Linked DNA regions of Homo sapiens: region 1 is linked to region 2. Evidence: promoter capture Hi-C in 16 types of primary human blood cells and fetal thymus (Javierre and others, 2016). All regions are on one chromosome and are shown on one strand. The core of a region is centred on a gene start or on the middle of the fragment in contact, and the rest is flanking DNA. Distances in the headings are between cores, read along the strand shown. Region 1 has its middle 86 kb from the start of ESM1. Region 2 holds the start of GZMA (granzyme A).

Region 1 (2,700 bases), core at 162-2,661, 200 kb before region 2:
TTTCCTCTGCTTGTGATGCTTATAATACAGACAGCATCCAACTTAGCAAGGTTCAACATTCAATGTCTCTGCTTTGAATGGTGCAAAGGTGATGCACATTCAGTGCACTCCTTAGCTCCCGATGGGGTTGCATCTGGATAAACCCATTGTAAATTGAAAATACCGTAAGTTGAAAACACACTGTTGACTAACAATATTTTCAACTTATGATAGGCTTATGAGGTTCCTGATGGGCTTCTAGGGACATAACCCCATTGTAAAATGAGGAGCATCTGCGTCCTCATGGCTTGTCCCATGCTGCTGTCTCTGCTTAAATGTACTCTAACTGGTGAGGACTCCCATAGTCACCATAGATAACAGCTCCTCCATTCTGCATAAGCTGCTTTTTCTCCACAACATTGATAACCATCTGGTATACATAGATCCTTATTTATAGTTTTCCTTCCCACTCTAATGTAAACTCTATGTGGCAGAGACTTGGTATGGTCACTGAGCAACCCCAATGCCTGCAGCAGTGCTTGGGCCATAATGGGTTTTCAATGACTATCTGTGGAATGAATGAATGAATGAATAAGTGGATACTAAGAGTATTCATGCAATGTCTGTTTTCATGAAATTTTGATAAGCCCTCATGATCAAATTGTGGAGATATTCTAAGAAAATAATTACATCTTGATTCTTTTGAGTAGGTGAATTGCCCCTTTTTTCCCCTCAGAAAAATCTGTTGGGCAGGTAAGCTACACTCAGTAGCTTAAGATGAGTCTCAATCCTGGGACTCAAGTGTTTTAACTCCAAATTCCATCCCATTTCCGTAGCCCAACATGTATCCTTTCCTTTAGCACAGAGAAAGAAGTCTTCTTTTGGAAAGCGTCATTTCCTTTCACTGTCTCCGCTTTCTCACCTCTTTTGGAGTTTAGTCTCTTTTTGACCAACCTCAACCCAGCCTCGTCATCCCTGCACCCGGCATCTTGTTACAGGCACTAGAGTTACTTATTCAGGGCAAACCTCCACTTGCCTCTAGATCCCATTCCCTTCTGCTTCTTCAAGGCGTCTCTCTCTCTCTTTTTCTTTCTCTCCTGCAATCTTCAATATCCCCCTCTCTATTTTTCCAGCTAAAAAGGATATTCTAATCCTAAAAATCCCTTTCCTGATATTATAGTCCCTTCACCATACCTAACTTCCCCCCAACTCTTCTGATCCAACTCTTTGAAGCACATGATGTCCCCTTCTCTTTGCACCCATTCAATCAGGGCAGTATAATTTCTGTTTCCTGCTGAGCTACTGAAGGTAGGATGAGATGAGAGCAGAAAGCGCCAATCACCACACCTGATGGTACTCTCTGTTCTCATCTCGCCCTACATTCAGTAGCATTCAAACTGACTGCTCTTTCCTTGAAATCCTTTCCTTTCTTGGCTTCCATAAAGCAACAGGCTCTGTGTTAACCTCCCACTTCAGTGACTGCACCTGCTTAGTCTCCTCTGCTAGCTCCATGTCCTCTAAGCCATCTCTGCACTCAGAGCTCAGCCCTACCTGCTCTCTTCTTCTCCATCTACAAATTTTTTCCCGCCCCATGGTTTGAAGTACTACATGGAAAGGACTCCCAAATTCATACTTCTGGTTCTGAGGGGCCCCCTGGGTTTCAGCCTTACTTGTGTATCCAAAGCCCTTGTTATGGACCAAATGTCTGGCCTTCTCCCCCACCTCCCTGCCCAAATTCAAATGCTGAAATCCTAACCCTCAATGTGATGGTATTAGGAGTGGGGGCCTTGAGAGGTAATTCGATCTTGAAAATGGAGCCCACATTAATGGGATTAGTTTCCTTATTGGGAGAGACCAGAGAGCTAGCTTCCTCTCTCTGTTCTCTACCATGTGAGGATACGATGAGAAGACAGCTGTCTACAAACCAAGGAGAATGCCCTCACCAGACACTGGATGTGCAGGCACCTTGATCTTGGACTTCCCAGCTTCTAGAACTATGAGAAATAAAATGTTTGTTATTTAAGCCACCCAGTCCATGGGGCCTTATGTTATGACAGCCTGAACTGAATAAGATAGGCCTGCTTGCCATTTTCCCCCAGTTGTCAAATAGTCATCTCAAAATTAATGTGACAAAAATGGAAGCCTTGACTTCTGCTCTGCAAGCCTGGTCCTCCTCTCATCCCCTTCATCTCTGTAATAGCACCACCATCTATCTCATGGTTCAAGTCCAAACCTTACGAATCAACACTCATTCATCTCTTTTCCTTATACCCAAAGTCCTGTTAGCCCTACATCTAAACATGACTCAAATCAATCTGCTTCTCTCCATCTCTGTTGCTGCTCTAATCCAAGTGACCATCGATGCTGTGTTATCTCCCCAGGGTCTGGACCAGCAGCTGACACAGCATGTACTCAATAAGTAGTTGATGAAGAAATGAAGAAATTAATATGAAATTTTTTTCTATTTGAAGTTGTCAGTTTACCATTTTCATAGGAGAGTAATGGAAAGCCAGCCAAACTATTTTACAGCAGAACTCAGAGACCTCAAGGAAAATTTAGAAGTCAGTAAAGTGTGTATCTTAATACCCCCAAATGCCAGTCCTGCTTTTGTTCCCATGGGGACCCTTCTATTCCTCTGCCATCTTCATAATTTCTCAGAGTAAAAACCTACCCTGAAGAAAGGGGCTGGAATTCCTCACACAGAAATATAAATCAATGATA
Region 2 (2,700 bases), core at 114-2,613:
AACCAAAACAGCATGGTACTGGTAATGGCTGCACAACTATGCAAATATACTAAAATCCATTGACTCATACACTCTAAATGGGTGACCTTTATGGTGTGTGAATTATGTCTCATAAAGTTGTTAGAAGTCAACATAAATGGAAGAGCAACCATTCACATAAAAATAAACAAAATTGTCAATGTTTTAAGAATTTTTCAGTAGGTGTAGTTAATTACAATTTGACTTTTTTAAGTCTGCACTAAAATTACTCACCAAAACCAATAGCAGGGTCCTCACTGCTGTTACTGAAAATGATTAACCTTTGATACACTTGTAATATCTGAGAAAAAGAAATGCAGGGGTCTCAGCAGGGCTCCCTTCTAAGGTCACTTGATTTCTAAAGAAGTAACCACTAGGTTTGAAGTCATCAGGATGTTAACTATGGGGATGGTTGGTTCAGTACCCAACATCCTGACAGCACATCTGACCATGTATATTGTATCGGAGACCACATCCTCAGCTCAGAAAAAGAGCTGAACTCATTTCAAATAGAAAGCACACTGCATACTGTTCCTCCAGGGACTGAGGTTGACTCTTCTTAGAGTGAGACATTCCCCAACATTGGAACAAAAATGACTCCCACTTCTTTTCTCACCTAAACCTGTTCAGAAGAAAGTAAGGAAGAAAGGCAGGAAGCAGGGGTCGGGGGGGGGCGGGGAGGGAGGGAAACTCGGAGATACTTTCAGTATCTAAAGTTGTGAAACTAGACAATCAGGAACGCACAATCAGAGGGCTGAAAAGGGCCAAGAGCCCCTACCCTCCTCCAGCCCATGTTCCCACACCTGCCACAGACCAGGCAGGAGCACAATAAACACTCACCACAAAGTGGGGAAGGAAAATCCAGGCAGGAGCCTCTATGTAAATAAATCTCCCTCCTGTCCTCAGCTTGCACTTGGCCTGCTAATTCTTATATAACCCAAGGAGACAGCTAGAAAGAATTTTGATTGGTGACCAATTTTGAGGACTTTTATTAAAATTCTAATTTAAGTCTTCGAGAGTTTCCAGTCATGGATACTACAGATAATATTGCAGATGATGAAAGCGTCTTCAAAATCATAGCTGAGACACTTTACAGTCTTCCCTGGTGTACTCTGATGGCAACAAGGTCCCTTGCCCCTCTCCTACCCTGTAGAATTCCAGCGCCCCCCTCAGCAGTCCTAGCAAAGGAAAGCCTGCCTGCTGGCAGTGAGCCATCATCCACCATTCTCACTTATTTGGATTTGGTTTCCTAATGCTAAACTTTGAAACTTGAAAAAAAAAATGAAAGGAAACCACATCCTTTTTACTCTCAGTATATAGATAGAGGCAGTTAAGAACTGAAAACAGATTTTCAGGTTGATTGATGTGGGACAGCAGCCACAATGAGGAACTCCTATAGATTTCTGGCATCCTCTCTCTCAGTTGTCGTTTCTCTCCTGCTAATTCCTGAAGGTAAGACTGATTCTTCTCATTTCCATTATGACCATGAAGCAAAATGGAGCAGACTTTCAATGAACTTTTGGCAATATTACCTTCCTATACTGAAAGAAGATGTTTTCCCCCAAGCCTTATAATGTTTAGCCAGGCACAATGGCACATGCCTGTAGTCCCAGCTACTAGGAACGCTGAGGTGGAAGGATCACTTGAGCGCAGGAGTTTGAGTCCAGGCTGGGCGACATAGTGAGACCCTGTCTCTATTTTTTTTTTTTAAATAGCATTCTTTCTTGGATTTTAAATATGTCTGTATTTTAGAAAAAAAAATCTTTTCTTCTCATAATTATTTTGCAAAAGATAGCAGAACCACCAATGCTTATTGCTGCCAATTTGTAACTTGAAAATTGCCAAAAAGGACAATGTAAAAATGAGTTAACAAAACTCTCTTGTTCGTAAAACAAATAGTACCTTCCAGGAAAGGAATAGTGGCAACTTAGTCAGCTCAGCCTTTCCTGCTGCAGAAAATGCATAGATAAAGACAATTAAGACAAATCTGACCTAGACACCAAAAGTGAATCAGGAATTATTAGAATTTTTATACTTATTTCTCTGGTCTAGAGACTCTTTGGCAATAAATTAAGGCGTGAGGCCAGTTCCCTCATTAACCCTTTGGGTGTGCTATAGTATTTTTTATTAAGCTAATTTTTTGTCTACCAAATGGTAACCAATATTTCTGCTTTTGTGTGAGTTGAGCATGCATGGGTTAAAATGCTGTATAATTCATGGTATTACCACTGAAAGGGTGACAGCTCTTGGGGAGCTCTAGATTTCCCTTGAAGAACCTGCTAGGAAGTGAGGACTACTCTCAAGCTGTGGCAATATGGAGCCAGCCACGGTTTTTCCCAGGATTCATCAGCTTTTGGAGGCAGGGACTTATGTAATAACCTGCCTTGCCAGGAATTCCCAAAGAACTCTGGTTTATCATATTTAGGTGCATATCTGGTTTATGCACCTAAATATGAGAAGACTTTGGGAGGCTGAGGTGGGTGTTTCACAAGGTCAAGAGATGGAGACCATCTTGGCCAACATGGTGAAACCTTGTCTCCACTAAAAAAACAAAAATTAGCTGGGTATGGTGGCACGTGCCTGTAATCCCAGCTACGCAGGAGGCTGAGGCAGGAGAATCGCTTGAACCAGAGAGTTGGAGGCTGCAGTGAGCTAAGATCGTGCCACTGCACTCCAGCCTGG

What was found. The method cuts DNA at HindIII sites, captures the fragments that hold promoters and counts their contacts. A CHiCAGO score of 5 or more calls a contact.
Region 1: a contact is called between a fragment that was not itself captured here and the fragment with the promoter of GZMA in region 2, in 3 of 17 cell types (activated CD4 T cells, total CD8 T cells and fetal thymus). The highest score is 5.9, in activated CD4 T cells.

The regions. Positions count from the first base shown.
Region 1 is chr5:54,898,140-54,900,839 of GRCh38, forward strand. No RefSeq gene overlaps it. Among named protein-coding and RNA genes, the nearest start is that of ESM1, 86 kb to the right of the region's middle. RefSeq lists a silencer at 1,533-1,690. The HindIII fragment of the contact is 5,239 bases long and covers 1-2,700 here.
Region 2 is chr5:55,101,283-55,103,982 of GRCh38, forward strand. GZMA (granzyme A) reads left to right here and starts at 1,364. Exons shown (of 5, transcript NM_006144.4): 1 at 1,364-1,470. The coding sequence starts at 1,401. The HindIII fragment of the contact is 5,521 bases long and covers 1-2,700 here.